Linked DNA regions of Homo sapiens: all the other regions are linked to region 1. The links are contacts of gene promoters, found by promoter capture Hi-C in blood cells and fetal thymus (Javierre and others, 2016). All regions are on one chromosome and are shown on one strand. The core of a region is centred on a gene start or on the middle of the fragment in contact, and the rest is flanking DNA. Distances in the headings are between cores, read along the strand shown.

The links. The method cuts DNA at HindIII sites, captures the fragments that hold promoters and counts their contacts. A CHiCAGO score of 5 or more calls a contact.
Region 2: a contact is called between a fragment that was not itself captured here and the fragment with the promoter of PAXIP1-AS2 in region 1, in 2 of 17 cell types (fetal thymus and naive CD8 T cells). The highest score is 6.1, in fetal thymus.
Region 3: a fragment that was not itself captured here is called in contact with the fragment with the promoter of PAXIP1-AS2 in region 1 in 9 of 17 cell types (fetal thymus, total CD4 T cells, activated CD4 T cells and 6 more); the score reaches 14.5 in fetal thymus.
Region 4: a contact is called between a fragment that was not itself captured here and the fragment with the promoter of PAXIP1-AS2 in region 1, in 1 of 17 cell types (M0 macrophages). The highest score is 5.1, in M0 macrophages.
Region 5: a fragment that was not itself captured here is called in contact with the fragment with the promoter of PAXIP1-AS2 in region 1 in 1 of 17 cell types (total B cells); the score reaches 5.4 in total B cells.
Region 6: a contact is called between a fragment that was not itself captured here and the fragment with the promoter of PAXIP1-AS2 in region 1, in 3 of 17 cell types (total B cells, naive B cells and fetal thymus). The highest score is 7.2, in total B cells.
Region 7: a fragment that was not itself captured here is called in contact with the fragment with the promoter of PAXIP1-AS2 in region 1 in 2 of 17 cell types (total B cells and fetal thymus); the score reaches 5.6 in total B cells.

The regions. Positions count from the first base shown.
Region 1 is chr7:154,925,901-154,929,766 of GRCh38, forward strand. PAXIP1-AS2 (PAXIP1 antisense RNA 2) reads left to right here and starts at 2,617. Exons shown (of 8, transcript NR_024476.1): 1 at 2,617-2,867; 2 at 3,056-3,124. RefSeq lists enhancers at 2,698-2,757, 2,778-2,877, 3,028-3,247. The HindIII fragment of the contact is 7,419 bases long and covers 1,292-3,866 here.
Region 2 is chr7:155,655,314-155,659,179 of GRCh38, forward strand. All of the region lies in intron 1 of RBM33 (RNA binding motif protein 33), which reads left to right. Among named protein-coding and RNA genes, the nearest start is that of RBM33, 13 kb to the left of the region's middle. The HindIII fragment of the contact is 9,727 bases long and covers 1-3,866 here.
Region 3 is chr7:155,639,052-155,642,917 of GRCh38, forward strand. It overlaps RBM33-DT (RBM33 divergent transcript), which reads right to left. Exons shown (of 3, transcript NR_126344.1): 3 at 2,865-3,866. Among named protein-coding and RNA genes, the nearest start is that of RBM33-DT, 3.4 kb to the right of the region's middle. The HindIII fragment of the contact is 1,941 bases long and covers 958-2,898 here.
Region 4 is chr7:155,574,097-155,577,962 of GRCh38, forward strand. No RefSeq gene overlaps it. Among named protein-coding and RNA genes, the nearest start is that of CNPY1, 29 kb to the left of the region's middle. The HindIII fragment of the contact is 342 bases long and covers 1,999-2,340 here.
Region 5 is chr7:155,547,351-155,551,216 of GRCh38, forward strand. No RefSeq gene overlaps it. Among named protein-coding and RNA genes, the nearest start is that of CNPY1, 2.7 kb to the left of the region's middle. RefSeq lists an enhancer at 824-1,325. The HindIII fragment of the contact is 4,683 bases long and covers 1-3,866 here.
Region 6 is chr7:155,498,750-155,502,615 of GRCh38, forward strand. It overlaps CNPY1 (canopy FGF signaling regulator 1), which reads right to left. Exons shown (of 5, transcript NM_001393663.1): 5 at 2,380-3,866. Among named protein-coding and RNA genes, the nearest start is that of EN2, 43 kb to the left of the region's middle. The HindIII fragment of the contact is 1,207 bases long and covers 1,505-2,711 here.
Region 7 is chr7:155,471,030-155,474,895 of GRCh38, forward strand. No RefSeq gene overlaps it. Among named protein-coding and RNA genes, the nearest start is that of EN2, 15 kb to the left of the region's middle. RefSeq lists enhancers at 1-1,129, 323-2,085. The HindIII fragment of the contact is 7,565 bases long and covers 1-3,866 here.

The DNA of each region.
Region 1 (3,866 bases), core at 1,367-3,866:
GTATTTTGAAGATGTTTCCATGGGTATATTTAAATATTTATTGGAGTAGCTGAGATGATAGTTTCTATATCAATGGAGGACACTGACCACAATGGATCAAGTACTGTCTTTAGTACATTTTGTAATTCTTCATTAAGCAATAATTCATTGTCTTTCATGGCAATATGGATTGCAATTGGATTAGATTTTGAAAATTTTATTAAAATATCTGTTGTGTCTCAAAGTTGAGTTTTATAATCTAATTTTAAATATATTTCCTTCCTTTGAGAGAAAGAAATGTGGGTATCACATAATTCTAAGCAGTTTCTTCCTGTTGAATGGATGGGGTCTGATGGAACAAAGAGGAGGGCATGAGTTCCTTGTAACGAACACTGTTGAAAGGTTACAGGCTGAGATTGGTATGCCAATACAGGAGGATTGTGATGCCCACCATTTGAATTCTTTGTTTACTGCAAGGAATGGGACCTTGTACCAAGATGGGATTAATTCCAGATAATGTGGCTCCAGTGTCAATAAGTGCTTGTGTTAGTTCTCCATTTATAATAATTTTTATTTCTCCCAGTGTTAGTAAGGAGGAAATGAAAGGCCCCTTTAAGTTCCTTGGAGCACCCCTGTTTTCTTTTCTGCCTCCACTGGTTAACATTCTTTCCTTTTTCATTTTTGGCAACTCTTTTGAAAGTAATCATGCTTTTTGCAAAAATTGCAAAGTGGAAGGTTAGGTCCATTAGGGAGTTTCTAGGGGTATTGTGAAGGCCAAAATTGTGTGAATAGTTGTTTTAATTGTAAATTCATAATTGTATTAGCCTCGCTCTTTTGTTTGGCTTCCCTCTCTCTTTCTTCTTCAGTTAAGGTATCAGATAACCGGTCAATGAGACTGACCAAATCATGAGTATCAGAAGTGGCCCAACTTTGTCTTTTCATTGTTAGTTCCAATTCATCTAACTCATTTGTTAAACTGGAGTCGAGTATCATTTCGATGATTAGCACAGCTTTCTTCGGATAAAACTAAATATTCTTTAAAATTTTTTCCACAGCCCTCAAAGTATATTACTGACTCATCTGAATTTTGTTGATATTGTATTTTGTTCCAGTTGACTACTCTGAAAAACTGAGGAGATAGCCTGATGCAAAGCCTTTGCTGTTCTTCAAGCCTGTCTATGGTCCTCTTCTGAACATTTATGAAGATCCCTAACAGATTTCTCCAGTGAGCTTTGTCTAGCCAGCCTTTAGCTTTAATTTTTGCTACTAACATGTGAATCTGTTGCTAGAAGTCAGAATAACTAGGGTCATAAGCTTGGATATTTAATTCAAATTTCCTAGCAAAACCAATAGGAACCTGGTGAAGATCAAGGAATTCTTTTAACTATGCCTGTAAGTTTGATCATGATTGATAAAGCAGGTTCCCCTCTACCAGATGCTGGATGAAATGGAGCCAAACCAGTGGGAGCAGGAGGAGGGGCAGGAGGAGGAGGAGGAGAAGGTCAATCAGGGCTGGGTAGTTCTGACAAGGAGGCTTAGAGAGACAGGGGAGCAGGGAGAGAAGAAGACATTTCAGTGTTTTTTAAAATTCAGTAATGGTTTTAGAGTGCTTTTTATTTTCTTCCTCTAAGGGAAGAATTCTGTCAAAACCTCTTTTGGATGCTTCTGGGTGCCATTGGAAGTAACTCTCTTAATTATTTTATTTGATTCCATAGCTGGCTTTTTAAAATTGTGCATATAAATAAACTAATCTAGCTATTTCAAAGATAATTCTCTTTGATCATTGTAATTTAGGATCTTCTTAGGTCAAATAAGACCATTTCTCCAACTATCGACAGGAGGTGGCGCCATAAGTCTTGTACATAAACCCCGCTGGAGTTTCCAAAGGTGCATTGCTTAATGAGGGCTTGGTTATAGATGGATAATTGCTCATAATTTGGATTCTCTTTTAAAATGCCCAAAGGCTAAAAGGGAAAAGTGTTTGGGGTCCAGTGTGCTGCTTAGTAGGGATTATTCCTGGAGGTATCACCTACAAGTAGCTTCTTCCCTCTTACCTACCTCAGAGAAACCCAGACATTTCTGGGAGTTCAAGGCACTGGGTGACGAACCCCTTGTGTGTTGTGTGCCCCGGGGGTTAAGCAGCTCTCCCTGTGAGTTCTTCTCTGGGGTTTGTTGTGAGCTTCCACACCCTTGTGTTACCTCCATTGCCTAAGGTGCCTTTCAGCTGGGAGAAAGAGTCCTTTTTGTCTTCAGCTTATCACGTCCTCATTCCAACCTTTTACAAATTTTGGGTGACTCAGGAAGAAACTTTAAATCTCAATGTTAACCAAGATCCAAAGCCTGGCTGGTTTAAAGCCACAAATTTGGCTTAAGCCACAAACATTCACTTTCTCCTTTTACAAAGAAAACTGCTTTCTCTTTAACCAAATGTCAAATGAGAGAAAAGGTTACAAACTTGAGCAAGTAAAAAAATGTCCAATGAGAGAAAAGGTTACAAACTTGAGCAAGTAAAATGTCCAATGAGAGAAAAGGTTACAAAAGAGCAAGTAAGACGAACGAAAACTTAACCTAATAGAAAAGTGAAACCACAAACCTGCCAATAGCAGAATCTTTAGAGAAATGACGCGAAACTCCTGCCTTAAAGCCCTAAATGGCGGCTTCAATATCAGTCCCACTGAGCATGAAATTCATTTACTTAAATAAAATCTGAATCTCAGCCCAAACCTGGGAGATTCAAAACCTGAGAGCGGTCTTACCAAAGACGCCCGTATGTCTGGTGAAGTCAGTTGGATGCAAGCAGTTTGTGCTGGTACCAGGGCCCCAGCTACTGATGAAGTGGCAGGAGTCCACAGAAGCCTACTTCGAAGTTCCCGGGGCTTCCAGGGGAGGTGAGAACACAAGTGATGGGAGAGCCTGGGGAGGGACTGTCTGGTGAGTAAAGGTTGTGCTGCTCTGTGGATGAAATGTCTCTGAGGTCGTAAACATCTCAGAGCCGCCTTCGGGAGAACGGGTGATAGTCATCTGGGCTGATGTCACCTCCAGTGTCCTCTCCTGTGATCTGTGTTAATCCTCCCAGATTGACGAGATTCCTGGGGAGGCGATTCATGACAGCTGAGTTCCTTTTGGAGGATCCGTCTTCAGGCAGGTAAGGGGAGCTCAGAGGAAACCTCTGCCTGCATCCGCTGATTCCCAAGTGCCCTCAGCTCACAGGGATCAGCACTCCCAAGTGCCATGGGGGTGGCATTTCCTGAACTCCTTCAAAGCAATAACAACAGGCTGGGCGTGGTGGCTTACGCCTGTAATCCCAGCACTTTAGGAGGCTGAAGTGTGAGGATTGCTTGAAGCCAGGAGTTCAAGACCAGCCTGGGCAACATAGGGAAACCCTGTCTCTACAAAGAATTAAAAGAAAACTTAGCCAGGAATGGCAGTGCACACATGTGGCCCCGCCTACTCGGGAGACTGAGGTGGGAGGAGTGCTTGAGCCAGGTGGTTGAGGCTGCAGGGAGCTGTGATTGCACCACTGCACTCCAGCCTGGGCAACAGAGTGAGACTCTATCTCAAAACAAACAAACAACAACAACAAAAGTGAAACAATAACAACAACTTTTACAAAACGGACATTTGGGATCTACATGCCACACTCCTAAATGCGTCTCTTAAGCAACAGGTGTCACAGTCTTAAACCTTGTCCTTACCCTCTTCATTCTAGGCACCTGTTTCATTCCAGGTAGGGCTTCCTCCTGGTTTCCTAACACAGCGGGTTGAGATGAACAGCAGAGAAGGACACTGCACACCTCTGCAGGGTCTCCCCTCTGGCCCACCAGCCCTCCCTTCTCCAGCAGTGAAGACCTCACTATGTCATCCAGGCAGGAATAATATAGACAGAA
Region 2 (3,866 bases), core at 665-3,164, 730 kb after region 1:
CTTTTATTTGACCTCTCTGCTCTGGCTTTTTTTTGTTGGGCATTTGGTTTATTTCTACTTTTTCCTATTAATAAAACACTTCTTGATGAACATCCTTGTACATATTACCTTTGTTCACTAAATGATGAACAGTATTTATCAAAATCTTGGGAGTCCCCGAGACTATGTCAGAGTGTCTGTGAAGTCAGACTATTTTCATAACGGTATTAAGGCTGTTTGCCTTTTTTTTTTTTTTTTTTTTTTTTTACTGTGCTGACATTTGCATCAATGTTGCAAAAGTAATGGTGGGTACATTCTCTGGTGTTTTAACATGAATTAAGGCAGTGACAATTATTTATTTTATTAAATCTTGATCCTAAAGTGCATTTAAAAAATCTTTGTGACAAGTAGGGAGCATATGCATAAAGGACTTCTGTTTCGTACTGAAGTATAACAGTTGTCTTCAGGAAAAGTACCTGTCCAGCTGGCATGGTAGTGTGCACCTGTGTTCTCAGCTACTTGGAGGCTGAGGCGGGAAGCTCACTTGAACCCAAGAGTTCAGTCCAGTCTGGGTAACATTGCAAGACCCCGTCTCTTAAAAAATAAAAATAAAAAAAGGTACTTGTTCAATTTAATTGTGAGCTGAGCTAGCTTTTCTTATTTCTTCTGTAGAACATCATTTTTACTTGAAAGGACAATTGACAGACTGTGGTTATTCAGATTTTAGTGCTTGGCGGATACATTCTTGAAAATGAAGTGAGCCTGTCACTTCAAGTAAAACAGTGGACATTATTTGTTGCCAATGATAATATGTAAGTTTTCAAACAAAAATGAGAATTTTGAAATACTTATATTTGATATTGTGAGCTTGAAAACTTCCCAGCACTTGAGGACTTTCCTGGTGAGATTGGTGATGTTGTTAACCAGTGTGATTTTGTATATTGGATAATGAAATGTGTTAGCATTTGGAGTACTACATAAATCAGGGCACCAATATTTTCAAAATGACCACTGCATGGTGGCACAAAATCATGGTTAAAGATCCAATAACAGTACAAGACACGCTTGGACTTTAACATAACAGGTATGAAATATTAATTGCTGTGGCTTCAGATTCTGCATTGCAGCCAGTCTTTAAGAAGTGGCCACTTTTTGATTATTAGTGTAGTATCGAAGAATATCTAAAATTGTTTGAAAAGACAAAGTACTTCTTTTTACAACTACGTATTTATTTGGAGTCAGATTTCTTTCATGTGTTTCAGTCAAAAAACATATCGAGTGAGACTCCATCTCAGGAAAAAAAAAATATGTGTATGTATATATCTCACAAGAGATTGAATGCAGAAGCAGATAGAAGAATTCAGCTGTTTTCTACAAAGTCAGACATTAAAGAGTTTTGGAAAACTAAAAAATATTTGTTTTATAGACTTTTTGTCATTAAAATATGTTGCATTAACATGTAATACTGATTTGTTTCTTAAGTTTGACTATTCTTTTTAAAATTATAGTCAGCCCAGTTTGTACCAGCTGACCCTTACCTCATTTCCTGTCTTCTTTACCCTCCTGCTCTAGTCTTTTCCAATAAAGGCCTTAAGTTACATACCATATATTAGTTTATTGGGATTACTGTTTGTCTTTTCTTACTAGAATGTAACCTACACAGGGTGAAGGTTTTTTTTTTTTTGTCTTGTATGTCAGTTGTCTAGAACAGTGCCTGGCATATATTATGTGGTCAAGAAATAGTTGTCGAGTGAAGGATACAGGTTTCATGACTCTTCATTTGTATTCATATTTTTTGCTTATCTTGCATTCTCTGATTTTGGAATGATTTCAACAGCCACTTTCCTTAGTATTTTATGGCGTCTCTCCTTTGGGAAAATACTTTAATTATTTTTGATGATCCTGGCCTCTAATTTTGGCTTTTGTAGATTTAACTCTGAAATTTCCGGAAAGTGCTACGTAGCACGATGGCAGTTAAATTTCCTTCCGGAGTGCCCGCGCTGATGCACAGTGTGAGATGAACACAGGGATTCCTAACCCTAGCTGTCCATCAGAATTAGTGGGAACTTTAAAAAGCAAAAAGAGCCCACTGAATCAAAAATCAGTGAGGAGGCCAAGGATTATATGCTTGTTAACAAGGTTATAATACTTGTTATTAGCTAGCCTGGCAAAAAGATGTTCTGGTTTCAGCAGAATTAGATGCTCTTTTTTTTCGTTTTTTCTTATTTTGGTCTCACTGTTTTGTCCAGGCTGGAGTGCAGTGGCCATGCACAGGCATGAGCATGGCACACTACAGCTTCAAATTTCTGACCTCAAGCAATCCTCGCTTCTCAGGCTCCCAAGTAGCTAGGGCAACAGGCTCCAGCCACTGCACCCAGTGGATGCTCTAATTAATTAGCAATGTCTGCCATGGATGATTGTGATTAAGTACTAATTTCTTCGCTGTGTCTTAATGAGAAAAAAGTCACAAGCTAAATTTTTAGCTTATAAAATATTGGGATTTTGCTTCTGTTTTCATAGATAGGGAATGCTCCTTGTTTTCATGAAGCATGACTTTTGATGTTTTAAAATTCATTAAGAACTATTTTTTGGCCTAACGTGTATCAGGGACAGTGCATCCTCTACATTTAAAAATAATGTATATTTTGCACTTGTTGGTCCAAGTACCCTGTATTGGCTGTTAGGTCTAGTTGATTTATAGTATTTGAGTCCTCTATATCCTTATTAATCTTTTACCTGGATTTCATATTTGTTGAAAGTGGGGTGTTGAATTCTCTAAGTATTAATGTAGATCAGTCTCTTTCTCCCTTCATTTTTGTCAACATTTGCTACATCAATTTTGGTGTTCTGTTTCAGTGCATATATGTTTATAATTGTTATATCTTGATGAATTGACCCTTTGATCGGTATACAGTATTCCTTCTTTTTGAAACAATTTTGGATTTAAAAATATTTTATCTGATATTAGTGTAACTTTGCCAGCTGCCTTTTGGTTACTATTTGCGTGAAATATCTTTTTCCATCCTTTCACTTTCAATTTATTAGTGTCTTTGGGTCTAAAGTGAGTCTCTAATAGGCAGCATATAGTTGGATTTTTTTTTTTTTTTTTTTTTGAGACGGAGTGTCTCTCTGTCGCCCAGGCTGGAGTGCAGTGGCGTGATCTTGGCCCACTGCAACCTCTGGCCCACTGCAACCTCCGCGGGGTTCAAGTGATTCTCCTGCCTCAGTCTCCTGAGTAGCTGGGATAACAGGCGCTCGCCACCAAGCCTGGCTAGTTTTTGTATTTTTAGTAGAGACGGGGTTTCACCATCTTGGTCAGGTTGGTCTCAAACTCCTGACCTCATGATCCACCCGCCTCGGCCTCCCAAAGTGCTGGGATTATAGGCGTGAGCCACCGCGCCCGGCTGCTTGTTTGTTTTTAATCCTCTCTGCCAGTCTGTGATGTGACAGAAGGTAGTCAAGTGGGAAATGCCAGATGCCAGTCCTTCCAGTGGAACAACTATTGACCTGGCAAGAACTGTTGGAAGCAACCGTTTTGGAACTTGAGAACCTAACATTGGTTTTCATCACTGATGGGCTGGTACAGAGGCTCTCTCTGTTATTTTCATCCCCCTCTGCTGAAGCAGTTTCTCCTCAGCTTTGTTCATTTTTCCTTTTTATTGGATGCAGGCATTTAAGGAAATCTACCAGGTCGCTGGTTGATTAGGGAGATAACAGTAGACAGACTTCAGTGACCACACTTAAGGAATATAATAAATAGTAGTTTTAAAAAGCCATTAAACAAATGGACAGCAACCTTCATTGTGTAACAGCAGCAACTCTGGGGAAGGAGAATCTGGTTTCTAGAGTTACTACATTGCAATGTACAGAATATCCAGTTTTAAATA
Region 3 (3,866 bases), core at 678-3,177, 710 kb after region 1:
GGGATTAGGTTTCAACATATGAATTTGGGGTGGAGGAATACAAACATTCAAGCTATATCACGTGTTTGGCATCCTCATTCCAGTCTCTCAATTGCTAAACCTCTCATTCACATCCTTCATCTCCTTTCCTCTTTGTGTTATATTCTGCGCAATTTTTTTGTCTACCCTTAATTCCCAAATTCTCTCAATTCTGTCTCATCTGTGTAATTTTGCCTTTGGGTTTTTTAACAACTGTATTTTGAACAGTGTTTGATTTTTTTTCCTCTTTAATTTGTTTGAAGCATTACAAACCCGTAGAAAGTTTAAGAGTAAAATTAAACTTTTTTTGTGAATCATGTGTGACCAAGTTGCTGAGCAGATGCCCCATCAGCCACAAGCACTGTATGTAGTATGTATTTACCACAAAGGCTTTCTTCCTACATGCAGCGTATTAATCACTGAAATCGGGAAATTAACTTGGTGTGTTACTGCCATCTAACCTTCAGACCCTATCAATTTTTGCAAATTGTCCCAATAAGAGTGAAAAGATCATTTATTGCATTTAGTTGTGATGTCTTTTTCTTCTTCAGTCTGAAATGTTTTCTTAGTGTTTCCTTGACTTTCGTAATTAGATCTTTGAAGATTACATGCCAATTATTTTCTGGAATGTCTCTCAATTTGAGTTTGTCCTTTTTTCTTCAGAATTAGATTTGGTTAGGTATCTTTGACAGGATGATCACAGAAGTGATGCTGTACTCTTCTTATTGTATTATATCAGGTGGCAACTTTTATTTATCCCATTATTGAAAATGTTTACTTTGATCAGTTAGGGTGGTTTTAGAGGCTTTTCCACTGAAAATTATTCTTTTCTACTATGTAATTAATATATATTTTCTAGGAAGGAACACCTTAACTATTTTGATATACTGTTTCCATATAAAGTTCAATTTATTATTTATCAATATTTGTATAGACACAAGCTTTCCTGTTTTTAGTCTATTGCTCTCATTATTTAATTTGATGCTCATCTCATCTCTGCTTTGGCCCATTAAATCTCACTTCTGTGTCATTTTGACATATCTTTATCACTATTCAAGCACTTCCTTGATTTTTGGAGGGAACAAGATGTTCCAGGCTGATCTTGCGAATTCCATGCCCCAGTTCTGAAATCAGTTGTTTTTCCAAGTAATACTGGTTCCTTTTGAAAAGTGGTATTTAGAAACCAAGGTCTAGGTGCTGGGTGTGCTCAAGATGGGCTGCTGTCTCCAGGGCACTCTTGGTGGACAGTTAGGAAACACACACACATACACACACACACAGTTATACAAAAACAGGCATACACATATTTGCATATACATTTATTCCTACAATGAAATACAATTATCAAAAACCATTAGTGCAATCACTCTGATTCTTTATTCTAGTGACACACCATAGGGTTAATTTTAGCTTTTTCTTCATATAAGTAACTCCCTATTTGCACAGTGTGAAACTTAGCTCCATCACCCTTCATATATTTATATATCTGATCAATTTCCCTGTTCATAACCAACATGCCATCTCTGTTGTCACCTTCTTCTGTGTAGGTCCCCTTATAACTGGAGTTCTGATTCCCTGTGCTCTGCCTCCCACCTGTGTGAAAACTCTCACGATGCTTGTGTTCTGCCGTTCTAGTCTACTTATCTTTGGCAACTCCCACCTCATCCCAGTAGGGCCCTGAATTCCACCTTGGGCCCATCCCTCAGGATCATGTCCTAGTAACCCGGTCATGTGTGACTCCCCATGTTGAACTGCCCCCATGGGTGGATGCCCTCCTCACTTTGCCAATCCACAGGACATACTTTGAAACCTGTGGTGCTCTCACATGCCTTGCTGGGCAGCCCTCTCACAGGGTATGAGCTGGAACACATGCTTGGGCTCCGATCCTCTAGCCTGGCCAGCACATCCCTCCCCACCTCTCCCAGCCCTGCTATACCACTAGTGCTGCCTAATGGCTTTAGGACATTGTTCAGATACAACAAAAAGGAAGCACTCTCTGGCTACTCTAGACAGTCTCTTCTTGATTTTTTTCATCCTTTATTTCCTTAAACCTTTCAAATATTGTCCTTTATGGTAATTTTAATAACTAAAGTCCCTAGGAGGTCAATCTAGTTTGTATTTTTCACTTACAGTGGTTTCTTCCCTCGTGCATTTTGTGATCTTTGATTTTAAGTCCATAGTTGGTTGACCTTAAACTGTGAAGAATATAAGGGGATAATTTGAGAAAGCCCTTCCAGGATCTCTGGCCTAATTTGGGAGCCTGGGGTTTAGATTCCCTCCTCAAAAGCTGTCCAAGAATTTGCTTCCTATTAGCAGTGCAAATGGGGATGACTTCCCCAGTGAAACCCTGAACTTCCTGTACACTACTAACTGCTCAGGCTTTGGATCTGTTTTTTTTTTGTTTGTTTGTTTTGCTTAAGAGATGGGGTTCTGTTTGGTCACCCAGACTGGAGTGCAGTGGTGCTATTACAGCTCATTATAACCTCGAACTCCTGGACTCAGATGATCCTTCCGCCTCAGCCTCCAGAGTAGTTATGCAAAGCAGTTAAAGGTATGCACCACCATGCTTGGCTATTTTTATTTTTATTTTTTGTAGAAATGGGGTTTTGCCATGTTGCCCATGCTGCTCTTGAAATCCTTGGCTCAAGTGATAACCACCTGCTTAGCCTCCCAATGCATTGGGATTACAGGTGTGAGCCACTGTGCCCAGCGTTTTGCTTCCTTCTTGATCCTTTGGAAACATTATTCCTAAAACCTAGCAATACAACAAAAAATGTTTTCCACAGAATCTGTTTTGTTGGAGGAGGGGAACAGAATTTCCAGTTCATCATTACTGAGACGAGAAAGACTTCTATATTCGCTTTATTTACAAAAAAGCAAAGCTTGCTTTTAAGATTTTCAGTAGGATATGTATGAAACTGCAGCGCTCACTAGGTAGTCTTCTTAGGTTTAACCCCTGACACTCATATAATGCCACGCCTGGCAGCAGCTCCACTTTGGAGGACTGAGGAGAAGAAACACACTTCACTGCGGTACAGGCATGGAAGAGCTCTACTCTTTGGCCCAAATGCAATTCAGGAGCAAACCATTATGGGTGGGGGCTTGGCTTGGAAGTCCTTGACCGGCGGGAAACCAGTTCCCTGAGTTTGTCTTTTAGATTCCCACATTCAGTTAAGACAGTAACAGAGGCTAAAGGTATGGCTTCCCACTAGGTGTTTTAAGATTATTCAGTACTTTCAAGCCAGAGGCAGTCTACATGTCAGAGGTCATTTTTACCATGAGCAATGTTTTATTTATTTATTTGGAGATGGAGTTTCACTCTTGTCACCTAGGCTGGAGTGTAGTGGTGTGATCTCGGCTCACTGCAACCTCCACCTCCTGAGTTCAAGTGATTCTTGTGCCTCAGCCTCCCAGGTAGCTGGGATTACATGCATGTGCCACCACACCCAGCTAATTTTTGTATTTTTAGTAGGGATGGGGTTTTGCCATGTGGGCCAGGCTGGTCTTGAACTCCTGACCTCAGGTGATCCACCTGTCTTGGCCTCCCAAAGTGTTGGGATTACAGGCGTGAGCCACCGCGCCTGGCCTACAACCAATGTTGTTTTATACCACAATGAACACTCTGCCTTCATAAGGTTTCTATGACAAGTTAAAGTTAACACAAAGTGAAGTTTGTTCATAGATAAGGACAAGGGGTTGGTTAAATCTTTACTCACAGTAATTTACCAAGAACTTCAAATACTGGGTGTCCACGCTAAAAAATTTTTCCAGTGGGTGTTTGATCAAAAAATTTTATAGACTCTTGTTCTAGAGAAATTCAGTTTCAAGTGGCTTATGAGATTGTTTCA
Region 4 (3,866 bases), core at 920-3,419, 650 kb after region 1:
GAAACGTGTTAAAGTGTGGGGCAATGAACTACTGCATCAGGGAAAAGAAAGGGAAATTTCCTTTTTTTTTTTTTTTTTTTTTTGAGACGGAGTCTCGCTCTGTCGCCCAGGCTGGAGTGCAGTGGCGCAATCTCAACTCACTGCAAGCTCCACCTCCCGGGTTCACGCCATCCTCCTGCCTCAGCCTCCCAAGTAGCTGGGACTACAGGCGCCTGCCACCTTGCCCGGCTAATTTTTCTTTGTATTTTTAGTAGAGACAGGGTTTCACCGTGTTAGCCAGGATGGTCTCGATCTCCTGACCTCGTGATCCACCCACCTCAGCCTCCCAAAGTGCTGGGATTACAGGCGTGAGCCACCGCGCCCAGCCGGGAAATTTCTTTATGGAATGCTATAGGATAATCTCCAAAACGTATTTTTAAGTTTAAAAAAAAAAGAATCCAAACAGTGTGTATATAGCAGGTCCTTGACTTGTGATGGTTTGACTTGTAATTTTTTGACTTTATGAGGGTGTGAAAGCGACATGCAGTCTATAGAAACCATACTTCAAATTTTGAGATTTGATCTTTCCCAGGCTAGTATATGCATCACGAACTCTCTCAAACCTGGGCAGGGGCAGCCGCAGCCCCCAGTCAGCCCTGAGACCACGAGGGTGAGCAACCTGCCCTCTGCAGTGGGCTGCGCTGCCCAGCGATGTTGCCAGCTGTGGGCTGATGTGAGTGTTCTGAGCAGGGTTAAGATAGGCGAGGCTAAGCTGCGATGTTCCCTTGGTTGGGTGTATTAGATGCATTTTGACTTAAAATACTTCCAACTTATGACGGGCTTATTGGGATGTGATGTCATCCTAAGTTAAGGAGCATCTGTAATGTAATATGCTACTCTTTGAGTAAAATAAAATCTTTCTGGAAGGATACCAAGATCAGTCTCCTCTGGGCAGAAAAACTGAGTGGCTGAGGGCCCTTGGATAATACAAAATCTGGCCTTTGTCCCAGCACTCTAAGTCCTGGGAACTTCCCAAGTGGTTAAACTGTCTTCATTATTCACATTACTCACAGTGGGCCCTGGTAGCTTATACTAATGAGGTGAGCCAGCATGGTCCCTGGATACCTGCAGGATGGGAGGTGGTCACTAGCAAACCCAATCATATGATTAGAGGGCTAGGACTTTGGGCCCAGGGCTATCGGCCCAACCTGCTGACCTCTGGGAGGCAATGGAGGAGGCAGAGACTGAGTTTTCCCCAGCTTGGCTGATCACTCAACCAGTCGTATTTATGGAACGAGATGCCAATAAAAGCTCTGATGCTGAGGCTCCGTGGAGGGTCCAGATGTGCCTGGAAGGTGATGTGTGCTGATCCACAGGGCAGGACATGGAAGCTCTGCATTCAGGACCCAACCAGCCCTCACCCCATGTGTCTCTTCATTTGGCTGGCCTGATGTGTGTTCTTTATTATGAAAATGGGATCGTGGCCAGGCACAGTGGCTCATGCCTGTAATCCCAGCACTTTCAGAGGCCAAGGCGGGTGGATCACCTGAGGTCAGGAGTTCAAGACCAGCCTGGCCAACATAGTGAAACCCCGTCTCCATAAAAATACAAAAATTAGCTGGGCATGATGGCGGGGGCCTGTAATCGCAGCTCCTCAAGAGGCTGAGGTGGGAGAATCGCTTGAACCCAGGAGGCAGAGGTTGCAGTGAGCCAAGATCGTGCCACTGCATTCCAGCCTGGGCAACAAAGCGAGATTCAAGTGCAACACTTTCGAAGGCTCTGGGAGTGTTCCAGTAAATTATAAAACCTGAGGTCATCAGGGGAGCCCCTGGATTTGTAGCAAGTTGGTCAGAGGTGCAGGTCGCCTGGGGACCTCACTTGGGGGTGGCATCTGAAGCAAGGGCCGTCTTGTTGGGACCCTACCCTTAACCCATTTATGCCAGAGGTCGCAAATATTTTTTTGTGAAAAATCAGACCTTGGCAATGACCTTGAGCAGTAGGCTATAAGTAAGTCCCACAAGCTTAGTGTTCCACTAATGGAACACTAGGCGTAAGTGGGTGAAACCTGTGGGGATGCTAACTGGGTGGCAGTTTCAAAACGGAAACAAAAAAAGGGAAATGAATTTTTGCTATAGACATTTTGTACCTTTTTTTGAGTATATTTCCTATTTACAAACAAATATAAAATAAAAAGAAAGGTATTTTTAACTCTAGGAAAAACAAACAGTTGTAGATGAAAGCCGTGGTGCAAACGTGAAGCCGACTAAAACGTGGCCTGATTTTGAGCTACTGACAGAGCTTAAGAAAAAAGACTTTCTTCCCGCGGACAGGGGAGCCCTCTCCTTCGAGTGGGGAGTCTAAAGCTTCCCTCCTGCTTCATGTGCTTCAGAAGCTCTAGCTTTCATTCTCCGTTCGATTTTACCAACCAGCCCTGAGCAAACAGACCTCCGACCCTTGAAGTCAGGAACACTTACTTGGAGTTTCTCCGGGCGAGGCACAGGTGGCCGGGGCCAAGCTGCCCAGGTGAGGAAAGTCTGGAGGACTCACGCCTTAGGTGTGTTTGATTTCACCACCGCAAGGAAAGCCTCCTCACGTGCACCGCACGGGCTTGCAGAAAGCAGCCCCAGCCCGGAGTAAGGCGTTCGGAAAAGCGCGCTCTGCTCCGTCCCCGGACGCTCCCTCTTCCTGATATCCTTGCAGCTCTCTGGTTGGGGTTTTTTTCTTTCTCTTTGCATCCTCATTTCTCCTCTGGGCTTTTCTGTTGCACAAAACAGAAAAAAATAGAAGAAAAACACTTTGGCAGATTGTTTTATTCTGTGGCCAAAGGAAATCAGAGAGGACTAAATGCGGAAGGAGCTGAGCGACTCCAGCCCACTCATTCGGTGTACAGAGCAGCTTAGCAAGAAGGCGTGGACTGCTGGGCTGGGCTTGCATTCTACAAAACTCCGCCATTCACCGGGGTCACCCTGGGCGGGCACTCCAAGTCCATGGCCTGTGTCAAGTGAGTCACACGGTTGACGCTACCTGGAGGCACTGGTGTCACCTTGGGTGTGGCATTGGTGTCACTGACTCTTCCCCATCTGCTGGCCCAGACTTTTAGGCCTGCGCTGTCCTCTGATTGTCTGTGGTCCTCCCCCAGAGACAGGCTCAGTCCTGCCCAGCGCTGTGGAGCACCTACCCTGGTGGCCATTCCAAGCTTCAGCCCCCTGGGCAGGTCCAGGCTGAAACACCACAGGAAGGCCAGGGGAACCTCTGTACTTCCCAGACAGACCCCATCCCAGCACCAGACAGACCCCATCCCAGCATCCACTGAAGCCCCTGGACGGCTCCTTCGGGACTCTGGCCGCTGCTTCCTCTGCTTGGGGCAGCATGACGAGGCTGTGCAGGGCTGAGGAGGGGCGGGGTCCTCAGAATGACAGGTGCATCCACGCCACACCATGTGGCACTGTGGGTGGCCTGTCCCCCTTCTTAGCCAACCCTTTACCTGAGCATCAGCGCAGCATCGTTTGGGCCGGGATGAGCGTAGAGTTTAAATAGCCATGGTCCCTTCTGTCTGCCGATAGTGACTCCGGGGCCTGGTGGGGCCGGGCAGGGCACCCAGCTCTGAGGAAAACGCTGGCCTGTCCCCTCGACATCCCTCCCCTCAAGCCCACCTGCCAGCAAGACAAGCATGAGCCCCAGTCCCCGACGAGGCTGGTCTGACACCTCTGACCTGCTCCCGGGCTGCAGTGAGGATGGAGCGGGGAGCAGCACCTGGTTCTGACCTGCTCCCGGGCTGCAGTGAGGACGGAGTGGGGAGCAGCACCTGGCTCTACCTGCTCCCGGGCTGCAGTGAGGACGGAGTGGGGAGCAGCACCTGGCTCTACCTGCTCCCGGGCTGCAGTGAG
Region 5 (3,866 bases), core at 896-3,395, 620 kb after region 1:
TGGAACACCAGCATGTTCACTGCCTTTAGGTGTTGCTGGGTGTTGCATTCCACGTGTCGTGCCCTTGTGGACTCCAGGACCCTGTGGTGGTGATTCCAGCACTATCCCCATTTCACGGACGTGGCTTGGAGAGATGGAGAGACTTTCCCAGGTGTCTCCCTTACCCAAGGTACTACAGAAATCAGCAGCCGAGCCACTGTTTGAGGACACAGATGGCACTCAGTCCTCAGAGGCACACAGCCCGCGCTCCCTCCCTACCCTGCTCTTAGGGGTCAGTGACCTTCAATCCATGTATGAGATCATTGATCACTATGATTACCTGTTAGTGAGCAGTACATCTAACGATGTACTGGGCTCCTCTGGGGCCTGGAGGTCTCTGACAGAGTAGCCTGTCTCTCTGAGGCTTCCAGGAGGAGAAGGAAGTTTTCATGGCAGAGGCATGAAAACCTGTGTCTCGGGTGTCCACATCAGCACTTACTGTTTGGACTTGACGCAGTGCACAGGGGCTCAAAGCTACTGACCACAGGCAAGCCCCTCTTCTCTAGGAGCAGGACTTACAGCTCCAAGAACAAACACTTCCTTTCTGGCTCCCTTGAAGCTAGGCCAGGGCCTGTAACTTGGTTCTACAACCATGTGTTCTGGAATCTTCCTAAAGAGCCAGTGCTCGCCCTCTGCCCTCTCTGACCCACTATAGGTCGGAGCTCAGCTCAGGCCCCAGGACCAGGGTGGCCTGGGAGATGTCAGGGTGAGGAACTCAAAGGCGGGTCCTGGGGCCTGCAAGGGGAGAACTCTGTGCTGACCGGGACAGCACCCTCCACCCTTACGAGAGGGAGACAAGCATCCAGATTGTCTAAGCCATTGCTATTTTGAGTTCACTACACTCACTCACCTTCCACCTCTGGGATGGAATAAGAAAGGACCCTCCATGGTCAGTGCTCCCCAGTGGGGGATCTCGGTCAGCGCAGGGCCAGGGCTGCCAGGGGAGCGTGGGCCCAGAATCCCGGGCCCACAGGTGGTGAACAGCCCAGTAGGCTCAGATGAGGAGTCCTCTAGGAAGAGCCGGCGGTGACCATGTTACTGCTGAGAATGGGGCCGCCTGGGACCCCTGAGGACAGCAGGAGCCCAGCTCCCACACGAGATTAGGAGGAAGAGGGATGGGATTGTCTGATGTCCTTTACCCTGGCTCCTGAGAGAGGGCAGATGGTGGGAAATGGTGTCTTGGAAGCAGAGGCCAAAGCAATCAGCACAAAGGAGGGGTGGCCTCTGGCCTCCAGGCCAACTTCAGAGGAGAAATGCATAGCCCGAGAGGATGGCCGCCAGCCGGGTGTGAAGGTTCCCCGAGAACCGGGGTGGGCCCAGCCCAGCATCTCCAGGGGCCCAGGTGGCCTCTGCCCTGACAGCCTCCTCCAGCCCTTCCTGGTGGACCCAGGAGCTGGAGATGGTGCGTCCTCACCTCCTGGCTGGCAGAGGACAGTGCTGGCCAACAGAAAGAATGTGGCCTTGCCGTCAAGTGCCAGCGTCAAACCCTGCTGGGCCATGGATGAGCGTCACCCGGCTCTACCCAGAGTCTCTCCCATCGTAGGGAGGGTGTTGCATGAGTCTGTAAGTGCCTGCCAGGCGTGGCCTGCCTGCTGTCCCCTTCCTGGCCCCACTGACTGCTTGGAATCCCTGACTTGGGCTCAGTGACTAGCTTGGGACCCCGTCTCTCCTCGGCATCTCTCTGCTTTCTGTGCCTGCAGACCCGTGCCCAGACTCCTGCCCAGCCGCCCCACCCTGAGCCCGGACGCTCCCTGTGCTGTGGTCACTGTGGGTGTCCTTGGCTCCCTGGATCCCTCAAGGCTGGACTTGCCGGCAGAAGTGGAAAGGGGCCGGTGAGTGGGCTCAGCTCACAGGGCTCTCTGGGTCAATATTTTAATGTTCTGCTGCCTTCATTTCAGGCCCACATTTCACAAGCACCAAGATAGGCCGTGAAAAGGCAGAGCCCCTTGTAGTGCACACCTGTCATCGAGCATCCCCAAATGCCCTGAGCATCGGGATGGCAGTAGCAGGACCAGGGCACAGCACCCCGCCCCCCGTGGCCATGCAGGGCTTCTTGAGGTCAGGGTGGCCCCGTCAGCAAGGAAAGGTGCTGGGCTTCCAACAGGACAGGAGGCCCCCAGGCCTGCCATCCCTGACCTCCCCTCGGAGGGGCCGCTCCACAAGAAAAGATCATTTTAAATTTCCGCCCCAGGTCACAGAACAAGTTAACAGTCACATCAGCGACCTGGGCTCCAGATTTCTAGTCCGGCATTAATTTAAATGTTAATCTGAAACCTTCACTTAAATCACAGGAGTTTAGAGTTTATTAGAGCAGGCGGCGGGAGTGGGGCCTCATGGGGGGATTGGTGGGTCACACTGCCTGCCAGAGGGCAAGCCCCCTCCCGCTGGGCCTACCAGCCCCTGCCACTATGGCTGTCTCCTTCCCTCTCCCTCCCTTTCTCTCTTAGAGGAAGATTTGGAAATGGGAAAGAGATGGAGGTAGATGTCACGACAGATTCAGATGAGCCTCCGGTGGCTCAGGTGCCGGAACCATCTCAAGGGGCTTGCAAGAGCAGATGGCATGTGTGCTGCTTCCCAACTCCACAGCTAGTGACATCACACAGGTAGCCCGGATCAACAGGGGTGGGAGTATTTACACAACAGGCATAGGCAGATGCTACAAATCAGGGCCCCGCCACCACAACCCTCCTGCCCACACTCTGCACATGCCCACAGGAGGCTGCATCTCCCTAGAGGTGAAGGGATCAATGAATATCTGAGCATTTGCCATTTTCAAGGTTATGAGCAAGGCCCAAGGAAGCCACCGAGGTCTGAGTCCCAGCCCGTGCCCTCCAAGGAGCTCGCATGTGGTGGATGCCGTGCCTCCATTCCTCCAGGGGTGTCTGGGCCACTCTCCCCACCAGCAGGAGCGGCTATGGGAACCAAGCCATCCAAAGCTGCAGGCAATGTGGATTTTCCTCCAGTGGCCTTTAGGCCACAAGCAGAGGTGACATCAGAACCACGTGGGGAGTTGCTAGAAGTACAGACCCAGGTCCCAGCCTGGGAGACTCTGAGTCGGGTCTGGGTTGGGCCTGAGATCTGCAAATGTCTTTGACATGCAGGAGGTCATTGTGCTCTGCAATGGGGGCCCTACCTGTCCCAAGGTGCACTGGCTAGTGGCAGCTCTCCTGCACCCTGCACCTCTCCGGAGCAGGTGCTGCTGACCAGTAAAGAGGGGTGCAGGGGCCACTTTCTCTGGTACCTCAGAGAACATGGCTCAATTCTAGAACAAACCATTTTCTAGCAGTTTCTATAAGCAAGGCAGGAGCCCTGGTATTACGATGGTAGTGATTAGTGCCCATGCAACTCCCACCACTCACATTGCATCTCCTGCATGGCTGTGCCCCCCACACTCCTTTGAGGGAAGATGAAGCCCCGACTCCCAAGGCTGCAGGAGGCCAGCAAGGCAAACGTGACGGAGGGGTGGCTCCCCCCAACCAACACTCCTGCTCCCCAAAGTGGAAATGGCTGATGCCACAGTCTTTCTTTAAGCCTGGTCTCTAGACATCCCAAAGTGTGGCGGGCCCCACTCTGTGCTACGAGGAGGCCATGAGAAGAGGCTGAAACCCAATGACGAGCTGCGCCTGTGCAGAGGCCGGGGTGAGCTGGATGTTGCTGTGCACGGCCTCCTGGGCGCCCCAGGCCTGGCTAACTCAGGAGCATCTCCCACTGCCCACAGGATATCAGGGCCCATGATGGACTCACAGCATCGACCAGGCCCGCCGCTGTGCCCGTGGCTCAGGCAGGTGCGGGAAGGAGAGGGGCTTTGGAATCCAGTCTCAGCTTCA
Region 6 (3,866 bases), core at 858-3,357, 570 kb after region 1:
TGCTATGAGGCAAACCCTTAATATCAAACTCAGGAGCACAGTCTAACTTTTCACAGCCAACATCGCTATTCATAAAGTTTGAGATAGCTATTCACATTTTTACTTATAGTATATCAGATCTTTCTGAGCCCTGGCCATGCTTAATCAGCGGACATTGGGCATCCGATGCTTCAGTACGTAACTTGCCTTCCCTAGATGCTGGTGTGTTAACAATCCCGAAAGGAGAAGAAAGTTACTGGAGCCCTTATCAGCTCCACGGGAAGGCCATGTCCCTCTGGGTCACATCTTGGATTCACTAAGCTTGTGATTTGTGAACCTCCCCCTGCCCTGTGGCTTTGAGGGAACAGGACTATCAAACTGCTCACCTTACTGTACTGGGCTTTTACTCTGTGCTATTATGCTTTAGAGGGAAATTATCTAATCCATGGTTTACTGAAATCCATGTTCCATACAGTGACACATACTATAAGATTCTAAGCTAGTTCCAGTGCAGCCTCATGGCATTTTTGTTTTCCAGCAACTTCATAAGAGATTAAATATGTTTTACGAATTTCTTACTGTGGCAGGGTAGAATCTTTTTTATGTCCACTGTAATTTTTTTTTCTTTCATGAAAATCTTGAGATAATTCTCCAAGATAAGGAGCATAGGAATGTTTCTTTAATTAAGGAATTAGAAATAAAGACCCTATTTTTTCCCTGAGATCTCCACACTGGAAATTCGAAGCTCTAGCTGATCTCCGTGTCCTCTCTCTATTATGTATGTCCGTGTCTGTGTATTTGTATGCATGTATCTACATTTCCAAGTTTCTATCTATCTGTTTATCTATTTATCCATCCATCTAATTTTGGACTTTCCTGAAGAACCCAGAAGGGTAGAGAGCTGTATGTGACATGTAAGACTCCTCTTCCACAAACTGTCCTTCTGAAGCAAAGCCCCATGTTTCTGGTGATGGCCCCACAAGTGAATGAGCCAATATTATATTAAATATCATCAGCACCTCCTGCCGTTGGGGCAGATCGTGAAAAGTGGACTACAAAGAGCAGAGCCTCTCTCCTCAGCAAACATACATTTAGGGGAAGGGGCAAGAAGTTAAACTTTGCGTGAGAGCAGTATCAGTTACTGTTATCTTTCCCTAGGTCATTTAAGGGCAGTACAGTTTTACAACTTCCATAATTCTATTTCATTTATTGTATTTGATCTTTTTATCCACTTGGTTTCTTGCTCTAAAAGCAACTAATCTGAGGAATTTAAGAAATGTATAAAGGGGAATTAAATTATAGCTAGGGAATCATAATAACACACTTGTATGTCACAGGTGCATTCATATTGTGATGGTTTAGTATCATTGTTAATTGCATCTTGGTATCAAACTATACAATATCCTCTTGCGTGAGCTTCAGCACATTTAACATTAGCTCACAAATTTGTACCAAGTTTTAAAACAGACCACAAAATCACATCTAAGAATGACTTTTCTCATATTCCATGACAATCTGAATTTTAAGCTTGATATATAGTTTATCATTTTTATTTAGATATAGTGATTACGTATGTGAATAAATATCAACCTAAGCCAAGAAACAGATATAAAAGCACAGCCAGCTATCGACTCTATTTTTTTAGGGTTGTCTTAGTAAATAAAGTATTGATCTTTCCCGTTTGGGACTTCAGCACAATCCCGCTCTCCACTCCTCAGTAAAATGGATTCATTGTCCTTGGCTTGTTCTTAGCAAATAGTAATCCACATCACAAAAAATAAACTGGCCATCTCAGCCAATTTGGTCTTTTTTTTTTTTTTTTTTTTTTTTTTTATGAGAACAGGTTCACGTGTCTTCATGGAGACCCAAACCAACCATCTCATAAAAGAACAATTTGAAACCATGCAGCCTCAAACAAGTCTTCTCTCCTCATTATTTTAATAAGCATTACACACCCCACCCCGTGTTTTTCCAGGGATTTTTTTTTGGACATAGAATTAGGCAGCTTTTCATCAACTCTGAGAAACGTTCTCTCACCCTATAATGTTGCCTTGTTTCTTTTATTTTGTTTTTGTTTTTGTTTCCTCCCCATGACTTGTTTTATTTTGGTTTTGGTCAATAAATGTGACTTACAAGGCACCAAGGTGGCTAGGAGGATGCTAAAGTGAGTAGCTACTCTATCTCATTGTTCATTAGCAAAAGCAGCACAACCTAACAGTGGCCCACAGGGAAACCTAAGACTTCCTGAAGCCAGAAGAAATCCAGTGGTTTAGGTGTTATCACTCAAATACAGGTTGAATCAGTAACTTTGTAAGCTACGAATATTTACATGAGTTTGGCAAGTTTGATCTGGAAAAAATTCTGGAAAGAAAAAATACACAAGTCATGAGATATTAAAAATTTGCAAGATACAAGACTATTTTTAATGGGAAATCCAAGAAAAAAACCTGAAATGCCATATTTATCACAACCTTAGATAGTCACTGTAAGTCAAGGTTCCTCGCCCTCTCCATTCAAAGCAAAGCATCACTGTCCATGAAAGGCACCCCTCAGTGACAGGAGGTGCACCTCCCCACGTCCGTTTAGTTACAAACAGGAGCCCACATTTTCTTAATTTCTATAATTAGTGTTAGCATTGCCTACATTTGAGAATGTTTGATGATGATCAAAGAGAGTATGGAAACAGATTTGGCAACACTTCTACGGTTACGACCGTGAACAGTTTTCACTGAAGCTTACTTAGTGTCACAGGTCCCGCCATGTTCCTGTGAAGGTCACTAGGTTTTCAGGAATAATTGTCCTGTTTAGTGCATTTCCCAAGAAAATCCAAGTTAGGAGAATGTTCCTGATTTACTACTTTAAATGCCAAATTAACCTTAACTAGATACGTTTAAATAAAGCTATAGGGACTATGTTTTAAATAACAATTGTCCTACCCTACTGGAAAATAGTGTTAATTATTATTCAGTTCTATTTCCATCGTGTGTCAGCTCGGGTGCGAGTTCGCTGGGTTATGTAGGAGCCATCAGACTTAAGCAGCCACAGACAAGACAAAAAAGAAGCACCCAAGTAATTAAGTGACATTAACTCACTAACTTTTAATCAGAGTTTAGGTGGGGAGGGGGCATGGAAAGCCCTTCCCCTTAGCTTTGGTAAATTTTCCTAAATTTAAGAATTGTTTCCTGCTGAAGAGTCAGGAGAATGATTTAAACACATAATGTGCTTTTTAAGCAACTAAGTAACAATATGGCAAAGAGTTTTGGGTCGGGGGGGTTGGGGGGGGGATTTGTAGCATCCTACCCACTTGATTGTCACCAAAGACAATGAGAATCTCTTTTTAGAAACTGGTGTAGACCATACCCTGACATTTTTAATCATTAAAGTCAGATTCCATTGAATGCAAATGTAACAGAGATAAAGAAATTTCCGGGAGTGATTGTTACTAGACTTTGTATATTAAGTGTGGCCAAAAGATAATTTCCCACCAGGTCCCAACTCTTTTTCCATTCCTGTAGAAGAATGGTAGATTATTTAGTAGTAAACTCAACACACTAAATGTGAGCCAAAAAAAAAACGTTTAGAAGAAAAACAAACAAGCCAGAAGAGTTTGGAGCGAAACAAAACGCAATCACTAGTGTCATCTTTTAACACCTGATGCAATAATAAATCAACTTTCTAAGCCACTTAAACTCAGAATGGTGTTTGAGAGGCCAATATAATTATTGTTTACTATAAATTAAAGCATTCATTAGTTTTTACACATTCCACTAAATTTTAGAGATGGGTTTTTAAACTTGTGGTTTCTAAAAATTTTAATTTCATTCCTGATAAAAAGTGGGTTTCTTTCACTAATAGCCATATCTCACCCAGAAGGCCACATTTTGAAT
Region 7 (3,866 bases), core at 860-3,359, 540 kb after region 1:
CTGGTAATCAATTTGTACCTGCAACTCTCTGTCGTAGTGTCCCCCACCCCCACCCACTAAGCTATAAAGGAAGAGGCTTTTGGTGGCCCCCTCAGGTGAGGTAGCTTTAGCAGGTGCTACTCCGGGGCCACTCTAGGCCTATTGCCATGACGGGCCTTCCTTTCTGAATGAAGGCCAGAACATCAGGTCTGGATGGAGAGTTAAATGTTCTGATTCTTTTAAAGGTGATCAAAGACCAGCCGGGCCCATTGCCCCTGGGAACTCAGTGAGCCTTAGAATTTATTTTAGTGACTGCATACTGCCTCAGAGTAGGCGATTCCACCAGTGACTCATCACTCGCAGAGAGAAAAACATCTTTTATATGTAGAGACGGGAACGCGCCCTGTGGATTCAGAGCCCCAAGGAAACAAAAACAGCACGTCAGAGGAAGAATGTCATACAAACCCGCTGGAGTCACAAGGCAAAACAGCCCCCATACCTAAACGCCCGGCGTGACAATGGCCTTTGTGCCTGGCGCCGTCGGGGGGAGCTGGGCGCCTAGCGGGTGGGGCAGGCGGAAGTTGGACACATTTCCACGCAGGTGAGGCCATCCATGGGGTGATGCGGGTGTTGGGGCTCGCTGCTTTCGCTCCATGAAGATTTGCAGCCCCCCCCAGCCAACCCACCCCATCCCTTCCCCCCACAAGGGTATTTCATCCACACTGTTTTTTAAATGCTTCCTAGTCAAACTTGAATATGCAATGAGACGCGGGAGCTTTGTGGCGGAAATATAATTAAACTGGGGAAAGATGTAAAAGCTGAAGAATGGGATGACATCAGGCTGATTTCACACTCGGCAGTCGGATCGCTGGGCCCAAGCCGCGCTCTTGCCACGCAAGGCAGATCAAAGTGCCCTGCCACCGCTAAAAAGGCAAAAGGGGACTTAAGTATGCTAATCCCCAGGACAAATATATTTTAATCTTGTTAGAATACAAGTTAATGCTGCAGCTCAGTGGCTGAACTTGGTCAGACTGTAGAGATCCATTTTTATTTTAGCTATGAATGAGCTAGACCTCTTGGTTTATTCATCGGTAATAAAAGTAAATTTACAAAACGAACCCCTCTTTGGGCTGTGTCACCCCCACCTTGAGCTCTCCTTACTGGGGACTGGGGAATTCCAGAGGCTTCCAAGATGGGAGCATCCCTAACACCATCCATCCTTCTCCGACCTGTCCCCTTCTGTAGAGCATCCTGATGGCCGAGGAAGGAACTCTGCTCACGCAGCAGAGAAGAAACAGGGAAACTCAAAAATTAATTAAAAGATTCTCCAAAGCAATCTGTTTCCCTTTAGGCTTGTGGTTTGACAACCAAACCAATTCCTTTCTGTCAGCCCTCTCACTTTAATTTTTGCAATGTCAATTTTCATTACTATTAATTATTTGCCAAGCTCCAACTGTACATTTGGCATTGCTCTGATGAGCAAGAAGCTCTCAGGTTCCTCCCTCTTTAAGTGTCGATTCCTGGAAGATATGAATATGCAAGTTTCTGCGTGTGTGTACATGTAAAATATTGGGCACACATAGAAGAAGAAATGTCAGCCTGTAGAGCTCCCCTTGAAATAAAACCACTGTGGTAAAATATTAAGCAGAACCACGGATATATCTGCACAGAGGAATGTGTGTGTGTGTGTGTGTGTGTGTGAGAGAGAGAGAGAGAGAGAGAGAGAGAGAGAGAGAGAGCGAGCCAGCCAGCGAGCCAGCACTTAACTGTAAGGTTACAGAAGGTTAAACGGCCCTGCAGAGCCTGCCTGCTAAATATTGCTGATGGCAGCCGCGTCTAAAAGGCAATTTCTGTCTTTCTGCTCTAGCGTGTGTTAGAATTCCCTCTGCCTCAGGCAGAAAACCTGACTCCCACTAAAGTGTGCTGCACAGCCCTGCATTCCAAAGCCTGTCTGTGCCCTTCCGGCTCCCTGGCCTCAGCAGGGGGGGCGGGTGCAGGAGGCTATGCGCGCACACACAGTCCCCCAGGCAGGCCAGGCAACTGGCAGCCCGAGGGGAGGGGCAGCTGGCAGCAGTATCCCCCTCCCCCACAGAGAGCTTGGAAGGTTGGGAGGAATCCACCCACCCCTGACTGTCCCTGGTTTCCAGGACTCGGGAATGTCCATCCCTGCCATATTTTTGTCTGTGTGGGAAGCAGACACACTGTCACTACTGTAAGCACACAATTGATAAACGGTGAGTTTCCAAATTCCCGGGAAGAAAAGCTGGACAAAGACCCTAGAAGGGAAGTGTCTCCCATATTCGTGTTTCTCCTAATCCCTTCAGTGTTCTGCCCTTTAGCTGTAGCCAGCTTAGTGCACACTCTAGCACTTCCGTTGCAGTTCGTGTTCTGGAAGTCACATTTCCCAGGCATTGGTGTAATGTCTCTTCCTGTCTCAAATAATAATAACACCCAATGTTGATTGAGTTCCTACTAGGTCTCAGTGTAGGAGTTTCTGAGGGCGGCCGTAACAGTAGCACACACTGAGAGGTTCACACGACAGAAGTCTATTCTCCGAGTCCTGGAGGCTAGAAGGCCAAAATCAAGGTGTCAGCTGGGCTCTCTCTGAAGGCTGCAGGGGAGACCCTTCTCGCCTCTTCCTGGCTTTTTGTGAAGGCTGGCAACCCCTCACTCCAATCTCTGTCTTTGCTGTCACACGGCCTTCTGCCCTGTGTCTGTACCCAAATTTCCCTTTGCTTATAAGGACACCAGTTACATTAGATTTGGGCCCCCCTTAATTCTGTGTGACCTCCTCTGATCACATCTGTATGGCCCTATTTCCAAATAAGGTTCCGTTCACATATTCCCAGGACATTAATGTGGGAGTACACTGTTCTACCCAGGACAGCCAATACTCACCATTGTATGTGGGTTATCTTCAGTCACTCTCATAATGCACCCCACCAGGTGGCTACTGGTCTTAACACCGTTTTACGGGGGAGAGGACTGAGGTCAGGGAAGGGAAGCTATCCGGGCTGGCCAGGGTGTGTGGGGCTGTGTGAGCTCTTATTTGCTGTGTGGCATTGCTCTCCGCGACCTTGGCTGGTTTACATCACCAGCAACATAATCCTGACTTGGTTTAGGCCTGGCCAGACTGCATGTGTGTGTCCCCAGGGAGACGCTGTCCCCCAGCACCGACGACATGCATGTGAACTTGCCTCGTAATCTGCAAGGGTGAAGCAAACACCGATGGCACTGGTGTCATGCCTGCTGTGCCTTTTCCTCTCTGGGCCTTGGTTTCCTCATCTGAAACCTGCAGATAATAGAATTAACTTGAAAGCCTGCAGTGACAATCACATGAGAGAGTGCCCATGGGCACTGGGATCCCGCCTGGTGTACAGTGAGCACTCAGTAAGTGTCTGCCAGGGCTGGCTGTGATTTTCCAACTGCAGACATAGCAAATAATGAACTCGTATGTGCTATCCTTTGGTTGTTTCAGTTCCCTGTAAGTCCCGGCTCCCTCCTCCTCTCTCCTGGAGATCTGAGGCTCTGCAGCAGCCTGATGCCACCCTCAGGGCTCTGGAACCAGCAGGCCAGAGGGAGACACCACGCAGCCTGCCACCGCTCCTTACCTGCTGTGCCTTGGTTTCCTCTATGCTAGATGGGGGAATTAATCTGCCTCAGAGGACTGTTGAACTTAGACACGTAACAAGCCCGGCACAGAATAAATGCTCAGTCAAAGGCAGTGACCGTTCTTACGGAGGCAGGAGCCAACGGGGATCCTCCTTGCCCACTGCAGGTCATGCCATCTCAGGGTTCCCTTGGGTGCTCTGCATTGCACGTGCCCAGTAAGGTGCTGAGACCATGGAGAGCACTCACGCACTCATTAGCACGGAGCCGTTACTGTT